3 separate regions of the Homo sapiens genome follow, and regions 2 and 3 are each linked to region 1. Evidence: promoter capture Hi-C in human tissues and cell types (Jung and others, 2019). All regions are on one chromosome and are shown on one strand. Each heading gives the region's core, a stretch centred on a gene start or on the middle of the fragment in contact. The rest is flanking DNA. Distances are from core to core; before and after follow the strand shown. Region 1 holds the start of ADCY4 (adenylate cyclase 4). Region 2 has its middle 16 kb from the start of DHRS4-AS1. Region 3 has its middle 20 kb from the start of DHRS4L2.

The links. Contacts are between HindIII fragments. The study calls those that stand out against the background at their distance.
Region 2: a contact is called between a fragment that was not itself captured here and the fragment with the promoter of ADCY4 in region 1, in 1 of the 25 tissues and cell types used here (spleen).
Region 3: a contact is called between a fragment that was not itself captured here and the fragment with the promoter of ADCY4 in region 1, in 2 of the 25 tissues and cell types used here (pancreas and small bowel).

The regions. Positions count from the first base shown.
Region 1 is chr14:24,332,705-24,337,434 of GRCh38, forward strand. It overlaps ADCY4 (adenylate cyclase 4), which reads right to left and starts at 2,367. Exons shown (of 25, transcript NM_001198568.2): 1 at 1,790-2,367; 2 at 87-284. The coding sequence starts at 1,948. RIPK3 (receptor interacting serine/threonine kinase 3) reads right to left here. Exons shown (of 10, transcript NM_006871.4): 8 at 4,382-4,730; 9 at 4,181-4,241; 10 at 3,321-3,691. The coding sequence ends at 3,471. RefSeq lists silencers at 1,004-1,103, 1,764-1,923, 1,994-2,073. The HindIII fragment of the contact is 10,200 bases long and covers 1-4,562 here.
Region 2 is chr14:23,970,145-23,972,961 of GRCh38, forward strand. It overlaps a transcript of DHRS4L2 not described here. Among named protein-coding and RNA genes, the nearest start is that of DHRS4-AS1, 16 kb to the left of the region's middle. The HindIII fragment of the contact is 4,031 bases long and covers 1-2,817 here.
Region 3 is chr14:24,006,943-24,011,672 of GRCh38, forward strand. It overlaps the pseudogene DHRS4L1. Among named protein-coding and RNA genes, the nearest start is that of DHRS4L2, 20 kb to the left of the region's middle. The HindIII fragment of the contact is 5,422 bases long and covers 1-4,730 here.

The DNA of each region.
Region 1 (4,730 bases), core at 1,117-3,616:
CCGAAGGCCCAAGTGGGGCTATTCAAGGCCTGGTGAGGGATCGAAGCCCGGGCCGTCCCCGCTGCCCCGCCTGCCGCCCCTCTCACCTGGTCCCAGGCGCTCACCACGCCCCCGGTGAACAGGAAGGCGTGGCCTAGCGCTAGCAGCGCGACCCATACCAAGCCGGACAGGGGACGCGTCCAGCGCTGCAGTCGCTGCTCCCGGGAAGCGAGGCCCAGCAGCAGCGAGAAGCCGCCCAGCGCGCACAGCACAGTGGTCAGGAAGCTCGGGTCTGAGGTCAGCTCCTGTGGGCAGGGGTGTGTGAGGCAAGATTGTGACAGGGAGAAGGAACGAACCTGATAAAGGAAAAGCCAGCAGCCCAGCCCCTCAGCCCAGTTCTGAAAGGTGTCTCAAGCCTAAGTACGAAAAGGAGGCAAGGCACCTCCGCTTGCCATTCACTTTAGGTTGAACCATTTGAAATTGCTTGTGTCCTACTGCTTTTATCTAGACTCAGCAGTCTCGTATGGTTTTTGTTGGTTGGTTGGTTTGTTTTTTGAGACAGAGTCTTGCTCTGTCGCCCAGGCTGGAGTTCAGTGGCGCGATCTCGGCTTACTGCAACCTCTGCCTCCCGGGTTCAAGTGATTCTCATGCCTCAGCCTCCCGAGTAGCTGGGATTACAGGCTCCCGCCACCACGCCCAGCTAATTTTTTTTTTTTTGTATTTTTAGTAGAAGACAGGGTCTCGCCAAGTTGCCCAGGCTGGTCTCGAGCTCCTGGGCTCAAACGATCTCCCGCCTTGGCCTCCCAAAGTGCTGGGATTACAGGCGTGAGCCACAGCGCCCAGCCTCCTGTTGTCCAACCTATTATCTTGCTGGGACAGCTACCCAGAAGATCTGGCTCCCATCCCCTATTTGTTTCTGAGCCTCAGTTTTCTTATCTGTCAAACGGGAACCAAAGCGTCATGAAGCAAGTGAAAGATAGATCCAAGCTCACAAGGAGGCACTTCGGAATGAATGTCTCCAAATCTGGCCAATTTGCTCGGGAGATTCCCGGAGCCGGGGACCGCGGCCGGCAGCTTGAAGGGCGGCGCGAGGCAGCGCTCGAGCAGCAGGGGGCGCCAGGACCCGCGGCGTCCCGCACCTCCCTGGCCACCAGGGCTGCGATCTCGCCACCTGCCTCAACTCCAAGCAGAAGCTGCACAGCCGTCCCAGCATTTTGTCCCCACCTCTTCCCGGATTTAGGCGTGGACCAGCAAGGATTGGCCGCGCCCGGTGATTTTCCCACCTTGCCTCCAAGCAGTGAAAAGAAAACCAGGGGCAGGCCATTTCTAGAATTGGATTGAAGACCTTCTTCCTCCCCAAACAGAAACTGGACATGGGTTTACTTTGGGACTCAGTGAGAGCCCGGTGGAGGGTGCCTTCTGGGAGTCTGTGGGTACAACTGCTCTACATCCCCTAAGAGGGAGAGAAAGGCAGGAAATGAATTCCCCAGGGGCCTCCTAGAATTTCCCCTTTGGAAAACTGGAAAATCCGGTGATGGATTTATTGTAGAACCCGTAGACCACGGATGTTCATAAAGTCTGTCAGAACCCGGACAGAAACGAGAAGCATCCAGGACTCAGCTTTCTCCCTGAGCAGACCCAGAAGGGTAGAGTGACTTGCCCAGGGTCACTGCAGTTCCTAGCCAGGCTCAATGGTCCTTTCTTTCTCTGCTCCCAGCAACGAAAACACATCGAAAAGAAGACCCCACAAACCCCAACCCCGAAAATGCTCCCCAGGTAGAGACCCTCCCGCAGCAGAGGCTCGGCTCACCCTGCCGCTGGCCCAGGCCACTGCGAGCAGCGCCGCGAGCGCACAGAGCACGATCCCCAGCAGCAGCAGCAGCAGCGGGTACTGCTGGCTCAGGCTGTAGTAGGTCTCGTAGAAGAGGTCTTCGCTGGGGGGCGGCCGGGGGCTGAAGAGGCGGGCCATGATCTCCCCAGCCCCGAGCCCCGGGGCTGGCTAGGGCCGGGCGCCGGGTTACCTCCTTCGGCCCGGCGGGCCCCACCTGAGCTTTTCTCACCCGCTCAAAGCCGCTACCACCCCGCGCCCCCAACCTCGTGGCAATCCCGTCTCCTTTTTCAGGCCCTCCCTGCGGCCTCCCAGCCCGCTCCCAGCTGGCGATGAGGGGATCCCTCAGTCCTTTCCTCCTCCTCCCTCAAACCCGGATTGTAGAGGTGCCCTAGAAAAGCCTCATCGCCAGGAGGGCAGGATTTGGGGTTGGTGCGAGGGAGCCCCGGGTTCCCCTGATCCCCGAACTCACTGCCCGCGGCGCTGGCGCAGCGGAGTGGGCTAGGTCCGGGGAGGGAGCCGGGGACCTGATGGCGGAGTCACGCTCGCCGCTGCGCTCTGGCTCAGAGTCCCGGGCGACAGGCGCTTCCCTCCCGGCGCCGCGGCCCCCTCCCACTTCCCCGACGGGACAGCCCGGCCCCTTCCTGTGCCAAAGCCGGACTCCCCTGGTCTCCTCCCGCACTTGGTTTTGTCTCTCCTAACACCATCGCCTCCCCGCTTCAGCCCCTTCAGGGAAGGGCAATGTGGACCCTGGGAGAGATGCGAAGGGGTGGGCTGGGGTGGACCCAATGGGATGTGTCCAAATGGAGGTGAACGTTTGGTAGTGGGGAGACCGAGGGCGGGGGGCTGAAGCCTGGCGAGAATGTAGGGAAGAATGTGGGTCCTGGTGGGGATCTAGGTCAGAGTTGGGGGCGCTCATTCTCTTGACCTCTCCGCTTGGCTGGCAACCACTACCACCGGGTTTGAACTGTTCATGCTCCGTGGGAGGGGTTGCGCCTGTGTATAGCTTTAGGAGCCATAGCTTTCCACTCCCGAACAGCAACTGGGAATCAAAAGGGAAGCAATGTCCAGGAAGCAACCTGAGTGTGTGGTGGAGGCAGGTATGTGGCGTCATGATCTCTAAGAGCCTGGGGGCACCGTGCGGGGCCAGGTCTGTGATCTTTCACATCAACTCATCCCTCGCCAGAGCCCTGCAAGTGAGTCTTGAGAGCCCGGAAGAAAAGGGACCACAGCCTCTATCCCCAGAGTTTAGGGTTAGGGTGGGGTCGCCATCCTAGGCTTTAGAGGAAGCACTGCCCTGAGATTAGAGAGTGGTCTGGGGAACCAGGCCTCTAGGATTCCTTCCTGTTGTAGCCGGCTGTGCCCTGACCTTGTGTGCCAGGCCATTGCCCACTCCCAGCCCCCAGCATCCCCACTTCCTGCCATAGCAGAGCTGTGGTGCCTCCCTATCCCTCACTGGCAGCTCCCACCCCCATCCCAGTCCCTCCCTGCCCCTGGCTGAGCTCAGACTGACTAGCATTCCATCATGTTTATTGACTCCTGGGGGACAGGTCACAAAGTCAGTTTGTGGGCAGGCCAGACTGCCCTAGAAGGAAGTCAGGGGCCTCAAGGGGTGGCACTCTTCCTTAACTCGTAACTCTTGGAGGCAAGCTTGGAAGGTGCTTTATTTCCCGCTATGATTATACCAACCCTGTGGCCTGCTCCAGGCTTCAGGATCTTTAGGGCCTTCTTGCGAACCTACTGGTGGGGGGTGCTGCAAGCCCCTCCCCTTGCCCGAAGGTGCCAAGCCCCATGTGGGCAAGGCAGTTGTCTGTTGCATAGTCAAGTAGTTGTTGTCTCCAACTTGCACCCCAGAGCAGTTGTATATGTTAACGAGCGGTCGCCCTTTAAGAGAAATAGTGATGGTGGCAGGAGGGTTTAGCTGTCAGAAAGGCCAAGTTGGGGGTGGGTGGGGAGTATGAAGTCTCTACTTGTCAGTGGCTGTGTCAAGGTGTGCCCTGTGCTCCTCCCCTCAGAGCTCCTCTCCAGAATTGTGTTAGCAGAAGCTCTAGAGAGTGGCAATTGACATTTGAGACCCTGATCTTTTTTGCTGGGAGGTCCTCTGGACTGCTGAAACAATGGAACTTAGGGGGCTCACAGAGCTGGTGTTGTGGAAAGTTAGAAGATTCAGGGACAAATCCAAGCTTTGTTGTGTGACCTCAGAGGGCTCCTTTCTCAGGGGGTGTCGGTTTTCCCATTTATGAAATGAGAAGGTTGAGTTAGATCATCTTCTCCCCTCCCCTCCACAAAGTACCCTGAATCTAGATATAGGTCTGGAGGAGGAGTCTGGTGGAAGAATTGAACAGGGAAAAGAAAGAGGTAGAGAATGGGTACCTGTTACTGGATTTGGCTCCGGGGTCCTGCAGGACCAGTTCATGCCTTGTCTCTCAGCCCCCTGCAAACAGCACAGAGCATCCAGTTCTGCCCTGGAGCCTGGCACTCCCACTGCACTCCTCTCAGCCCCAAGTTTTCGCTGGCAAGGGGACAGCATTTATAGGACTCTTAGTGCATCCCCTAATCCTGTCAATGTCTCACCTGATTCCCTCGGGGTCCAGGACTTGGTGTTCCAGTTGAGGTAGGGCTGGGCATCTGGTTTCTGAAAGTTGAGGTCTCTGGAGTCTGGGGAGGTTGGGCCATCGAATCTGAAGATGTGCCTGCTGTCCAGGCTTGTGGAACCTGCTCCTCTTGTGCCCTGCTCCTCTTGGTAAGGCTCGGGCATTTTTTAGGAACAGAGCTGGGAGGCTCCTCTAGATTCAGTTTGTTTAGCCACTCAGAAACCATGACATCATTACGAGAGTGCTGGTTTTCTATGGTTCTCCTAAAGCCATCCATTTCTGTCCCTCCTTGGCCTGACTCTGGGATAGAAAATCTCCTATTGCTGCTC
Region 2 (2,817 bases), core at 318-2,817, 360 kb before region 1:
CTGCCTCGGTCTTTGGGACGCCCCGTCTGGTAGCATCCCAGATCCAGCACGTTCCTTCCGGCCCTGCACCCCGGCCCGGTGCCTCACACCCCGCTACCCCAAGCATCCAGACTCTAAGGCAGCCCCTGCATCTCAGTCCTGACATCGCTGTCCCTGGAGCATCCTCCGCTGGAGCTGGAGCTTGACAGGTAGGGTGGAGAGGGCGGTGGGGGGCGGGGGGCCGAAACTGCATCAGTTAACGGGGCCGTGGGGGAGGGAAGTCCTCCATTGCTAAGGCTTCAGTAGGCGTTCTATGATCACAGTGTAAACAAAGCTGCAGGGAAGCTCTAACTGGGCGGAACCCACCGCAGCTCAGCAAGGCCTACTGCCTCTCCAGATTCCACCTCAGGGGCCAGGGCATATCTGAACAAAAGGCAGCGGACAGCTTCTGCAGACTTCAGTGTCCTTGCCTGACATCTCTAAAGACAGCAGTGGTTCTCCCAGCACGGAGTTCGTGCTCCGATAACGGACAGACTGCCTCCCCGAGTGGGTCCCTGACCCCCATGTAGCTTGACTGAAAAACACCGACCAGTAGGGGCGGAGAGACACCTCATACAGGTGGGTGCCCCTGTGGAACAAAGCTTCCAGAAGAAGGATCAGGCAGCAATATTTGCTGTTCTGCAGCCTCCTCTACTGATACCCAAGAAAATAAGGTCTGGAATGGACTTCCAGCAAACCCCCAAAGACCTGCAGCTGAGGGGCCTGTTAGAAGGAAAACTAACAAACAGAAAGGAATAGCATCAACATCAGCAAAGGACAGCATCAACATCAGAATAGCAAAGGACATCCACACTAAAACCCCATCCATAGGTCACCAACATCAAAGACCAAAGGTAGATAAAACCACAAAGATGGAGAGAAACCAGAGCAGAAATGCTGAAACTTCCAGAAACCAGAACGTCTCTTCTCTTCCAAAGGAATACAAGTCCTCACCAGCAAGGGAACAAAACTGGATGGAGAATAAGTTTGATAACTTGACAGAAGTTAAGCTTCAGAAGGTCAGTAATAACAAACTACTCCCAGCTAAAGGAACATGTTCTAACCCATTACAAGGAAGCTAAAAACCTTCAAAAAAAGGTTAAACGAATGGCTAACTAGAATGAAGAATGTAGAGAAGAGCTTAAATGACCTGATGGAGCTGATAACCACAGTACAAGAACTTCATGAAGGATACACAAGCTTCAATAGCTGATTCAATCAAGTGGAAGAAAGGATATCAGTGATTGAAGATAAAATTAATGAAATAAAGTGAGAAGACAAGATTAGAGACAAAAAAATAAAAAAGAAACATTCAAATTCAGGAAATACAGAGAACATCACAAAGATACTCCTTGAGAAGAGCAACCCCAAGACACATAATTGTCAGACTCAGCAAGGTTAAGGGCAGCCAGAGAGAAAGGTTGGGTGACCAACAAAGGGAAGCCCATCAGACTAACAGCAGATCTCTCAGCAGAAACCATACAAACCAGAAAAGAGTTGGGACCAATATTCAACATTCTGAAAGAAAAGATTTTTGAAACTAGAATTTCATATCCAGCCAAACTAAGCTTCGTATGTGAATGAGAAATAAAATCCTTTGCAGACAAGGAGATGCTGAGAGATTTTGTCACCACCAGGCCTGCCTTACAATAAGAGCTCCTGAAGGAAGCACTAAACATGGAAAGGAACAACGGGTACCAGCCACTGCAAAAACATACGAAATTGTAAAGACCATTGATGCTATGAAGAAACTGCATCAATTAATGGGCAAAATAACCAGCTAACGTCATGACAGGATCAAATTCACATATAACAATACTAACCTTCAATGTAAATGGGATAAATGCCCCAATTAAAAGACACAGACTGGCAAATTGGATAAAGAATCAAGACCCATATGGTGTGCTGTATTCAGGAGACCCATCTCACATGCAAAGACACACATAGGCCCAAAATGAAGGTATGTCTGGAATTGGTGGGTTCTTGGTCTCACTGACTTCAAGAATGAAGCTGCGGACCCTCGCGGTGAGTGTTACAGTTCTTAAAGGCAGCGTGTCTGGAGTTTGTTCCTTCTGATGTTCAGACATGTTCAGAGTTTCTTCCTTCTGGTGGGTTCGTGGTCTTGCTGGCTTCAGGAGTGAAGCTGCGGACCTTCGCAGTGAGTGTTACAGCTCTTAAGGCAGCATGTCTGGAGTTGTTCGTTCCTCCTGTCTGGAGTTGTTCATTCCTCCTGGTGGGTTCGTGGCCTCACTGGCCTCAGGAGTGAAGCTGCAGACCTTCACGGTGAGTGTTACAGCTCATAAAGGCAGTGTGGACCCAAAGAGTGAGCAGCAGCAAGATTTATTGCAAAGAGTGAAAGAACAAAGCTTCCACAGTGTGGAAGGGGACCCAAGCGGGTTGCTACTGCTTGAAGGGGTGGCTTGCCCCTCCACACCTGTGGGTATTTCTAGTCAGGTGGGACAAGAGACTGAGAAAGAGAAATAAGACACAGAGACAAAGTATAGAGAAACAACAGTGAGTCCAGGGGACCGGCGCTCAGCATACCAAGGACCTGCACCGGCACCGGTCTCTGAATTCCCTCAGTTTTTATTGATTATTATCGTCATTATTTCAGTAAAAAGGAATGTAGTAGGAGGGCAGGGTGATAATAAGGAGAAGGTCAGCAACAAACGTGAGCAATAGAATCTACATCATAATTCAGTTCAAGGGAAGGTACTATGACTGGACGTGCACGTAAGCCAGATTTATGTTTCTCTCCACCCAAACATGTCGGTGGAGTAAAGAATAACAAGGCAGCAT
Region 3 (4,730 bases), core at 1,344-3,843, 330 kb before region 1:
CCGGCAAGAAAGGTCGGCGCCAGCCCGCGGGCTCTCAGGAGGCTCGGCAGCGCGACGCGCATGCTCAGTCGGGCAGCTCTCCGGGCCGGCGTGGGAGCCCGCGCTCCAAAGCCCGGTGGGGGGAGGGGCGCTCACGCAACCGCCACTGTCTGGAGCGGGCTCGCCTCTGCGGCGGCACTCACCGCCCGGGCTTTACTGAAGCGGAGTCTAGCATGTGCGGCTGCTCCACAGCGGTGTGGGTGGCGGCGGCTCCTCTGCAGCAGCCTCGGCAGTAGGGGTCACGGTGGCCAAGCCCACCGTGGAGCTCATCTGAGAGTTGTAAGGTACGGGACTGCCTCGGTCTTTGGGACGCCCCGTCTGGTAGCATCCCAGATCCAGCACGTTCCTTCCGGCCCTGCACCCCGGCCCGGTGCCTCACACCCCGCTACCCCATGCATCCAGACTCTAAGGCAGCCCCTGCATCTCAGTCCTGACATCGCTGTCCCTGGAGCATCCTCCGCTGGAGCTGGAGCTTGACAGGTAGGGTGGAGAGGGCCGTGGGGGGGGTGCGGAAACTGCATCAATTAACGGGGCCGTGGGGGAGGGAAGTCCTCCATTGCTAAGGCTTCAGTAGGCGTTCTATGATCACAGTGTAAACAAAGCTGCAGGGAAGCTCTAACTGGGCGGAACCCACCGCAGCTCAGCAAGGCCTACTGCCTCTCCAGATTCCACCTCAGGGGCCAGGGCATATCTGAGCAAAAGGCAGCAGACAGCTTCTGCAGACTTCAGTGTCCTTGCCTGACATCTCTAAAGACAGCAGTGGTTCTCCCAGCACGGAGTTCGTGCTCCGATAACGGACAGACTGCCTCCCCAAGTGGGTCCCTGACCCCCATGTAGCTTGACTGAAAAACACCGCCCAGTAGGGGCAGAGAGACACCTCATACAGGTGGGTGCCCCTGTGGAACAAAGCTTCCAGAAGAAGGATCAGGCAGCAATATTTGCTGTTCTGCAGCCTCCTCTACTGATACCCAAGAAAATAAGGTCTGGAATGGACTTCCAGCAAACCCCCAAAGACCTGCAGCTGAGGGGCCTGTTAGAAGGAAAACTAACAAACAGAAAGGAATAGCATCAACATCAGCAAAGGACAGCATCAACATCAGAACAGGAAAGGACATCCACACTAAAACCCCATCCATAGGTCACCAACATCAAAGACCAAAGGTAGATAAAACCACAAAGATGGAGAGAAACCAGAGCAAAAAGGCTGAAACTTCCAGAAATCAGAACGTCTCTTCTCTTCCAAAGGAATACAAGTCCTCACCAGCAAGGGAACAAAACTGGATGGAGAATAAGTTTGATGACTTGACAGACGTAAGCTTCAGAAGGTCAGTAATAACAAACTACACCCAGCTAAAGGAGCATGTTCTAACCCATTGCAAGGAAGCTAAAAACCTTGACAAAATGTTAAACGAATGGCTAACTAGAATGAAGAATCTAGAGAAGAGCTTAAATGACCTGATGGAGCTGATAACCACAGTACAAGAACTTCATGAAGGATACACAAGCTTCAATAGCTGATTCAATCAAGTGGAAGAAAGGATATCAGTGATTGAATATAAAATTAATGAAATAAAGTGAGAACACAAGATTAGAGACAAGAAAAGAAAAAAGAAACATTCAAATTCAGGAAATACAGAGAACATCACAAAGACACTCCTTGAGAAGAGCAACCCCAAGACACATAATTGTCAGATTCAGCAAGGTTAAGGGCAGCCAGAGAGAAAGGTTGGGTTACCAACAAAGGGAAGCCCATCAGACTAACAGCAGATCTCTCAGCAGAAACCATACAAACCAGAAGAGAGTCGGGACCAATATTCAACATTCTGAAAGAAAAGATTTTTGGAACTAGAATTTCATATCCAGCCAAACTAAGCTTCGTAAGTGAAGGAGAAATAAAATCCTTTACAGACAAGCAGATGCTGAGAGAGTTTGTCACCACCAGGCCTGCCTTACAATAAGAGCTCCTGAAGGAAGCACTAAACATGGAAAGGAACAACCAGTACCAGCCACTGCAAAAACATACGAAATTGTAAAGACCATTGATGCTATGAAGAAACTGCATCAATTAATGGGCAAAATAACCAGCTAACGTCATGACAGGATCAAATTCACATATAACAATACTAACCTTCAATGTAAATGGGATAAATGCCCCAATTAAAAGACACTGACTGGCAAATTGGATAAAGAATCAAGACCCATATGGTGTGCTGTATTCAGGAGACCCAATCTCACGTGCAAAGACACACATAGGCTCAAAATGAAGGTGTGTCTGGAATTGGTGGGTTCTTGGTCTCACTGACTTCAAGAATGAAGCCACGGACCCTCGCAGTGAGTGTTACAGTCCTTAAAGGCAGCGTGTCCGGAGTTTGTTCCTTCTGATGTTCAGACACGTTCAGAGTTTTTTCCTTCTGGTGGGTTCGTGGTCTCGCTGGCTTCAGGAGTGAAGCTGCGGACCTTCACAGTGAGTGTTACAGCTCTTAAGGCGGCATGTCTGGAGTTGTTCGTTCCTCCCATCCGGAGTTGTTCATTCCTCCCACTGGGTTCGTGGCCTCACTGGCCTCAGGAGTGAAGCTGCAGACCTTCACGATGAGTGTTACAGCTCATAAAGGCCGTGTGGACCCAAAGAGTGAGGGGCAGCAAGATTTATTGCAAAGAGCGAAAGAACAAAGCTTCCACAGTGTGGAAGGGGACCCAAGCAGGTTGCTACTGTTTGAAGGGGTGGCTTGCCCCTCCACACCTGTGGGTATTTCTAGTCAGGTGGGACGAGAGACTGAGAAAGAGAAATAAGACACAGAGACAAAGTATAGAGAAACAACAGTGAGCCCAGGGGACCGGCGCTCAGCATACCAAGGACTTGCACCGGCACCGGTCTCTGAGTTCCCTCAGTTTTTATTGATTATTATCGTCATTATTTCAGTAAAAAGGAATGTAGTAGGAGGGCAGGGTGATAATAAGGAGAAGGTCAGCAACAAACGTGAGCAATAGAATCTAATAATTCAGTTCAAGGGAAGGTACTATGACTGGACATGCACGTAAGCCAGATTTATGTTTCTCTCCACCCAAACATCTCGGTGGAGTAAAGAATAACGAGGCAGCATTGCTGCAAACATGTCTCGCCTCCCACCATAGGGCGGTTTTTCTCTCATCTCAGAACTGAACAAATGTACAATCGGGATTTATACCGAGACTTTTAGTTCCCAGGAGCAGGCAGGAGACAGTGGCCTTCCTCTATCTCAACTGCAAGAGGCCTTCCTTTTTTACTAACCCACCGCAGCACAGACCCTTTATGGGTGTCGGGCTGGGGGACAGTCAGGTCTTTCTCATCCCAGGAGGCCATATTTCAGACTATCACATGGGGAGAAACCTTGGACAATACCCTGCTTTCAAGGGCAGAGGTCCCTGCGGCTTTCTGCAGTGCACTGTGCCCCTGGTTTATTGAGACTAGAGAATGGCGATGACTTTTACCAAGTATACTGCTTGTAAACATTTTGTTAACAAGGCACGTCCTACACAGTCCTAGATCCCTTAAACCTTGATTTCATACAACACATGTTCTTGTGAGCTCCAGGTTGGGTCAAAGTGGTTGGGTCAAAGTGGCTGGGGCAAAGCTAAAAATTAACAACATCTCAGAAAAGCAATTATTTAAAGTACAGGTCTTTTTCAAAATGTAGTCTCTTATGTCTTCCCTTTCTACATAGACACGGTAACAGTCTGATCTCTCTTTCTTTTCCCTACATATCCCCCTTTTCTTTTTGACAAAACTGTCATTGTCACCATGGCCTGTTTTTGCTGGTCACTGTCTTTCTGGAACTGCTGGATACACCTGTAGACTAACAATAGAGAGGGCAGACATACAAGGATTAATACAAAATTTGCAATAGTGGAATTTCCAATGGTTTTAACCCAAGTGATGGGGGCAAGAGGACAGTGTGGGTGCTCCGGCACCCAGGCAGTCTCCCTTCTCCTTTGTCTCTTAGTTGTTGTTTCTCATAGTTTTCAATCTTTCTCCTCACCTGCTCACTCGCACTTTTTGTTTCATTGTCTCCCTTCTCTTATGGTCTCTCTCTCTTTTTCTCTTTTTCTTCCTTTTACACTATTTCTTTTCCCAGTCTCACTTTCTGTGTCTCTCTCTGATCTCTGTCTTTCTCTTTTACATTATTTTTTTCCCCAGTCTCACCTTCTGTGTCTTTCTCTGATCTCTGTCTTTTCCAGTCTCTCTCTTACTCATTTTCTCCCTCTCTTTCTCTCTCTCTCTCTCTCTCTCTGTCTGTCATCCCGTGTCCTCTCTCCTTCACACTCAGTCTCTTTTTCTTTTTCTTTTTCTCCCTGGCTCTCCACATCTGCCGTTTTCTCTCCTTTCTCTTTCTGATTTCTCTTCTCACTTTCTCTCTTCCTTTCTTTCCCAGTTTCTCTTTTTTCTCTGTTGGTCTTTCCCAAATAATGAAAAGGAGTGGAGGTCTGAATGTTATCAGATGCTATTGTCAGGCCTGCGTTTGCAACCTCTGTCTGCAGAAATGTGTAACAGTCAATTAATTTGTCTCTCGTTTCTGCAGCACTCAAAATATCATCAACATAATGAATAATATAACAGTCTGAAAACTTGTCTCTAACTGGTTGAAGAACTTGAGCTACAAAAGTCTGACAAATAGTTGGACTATTAAGCATTCCCTGAGGCAACACTTTCCGCT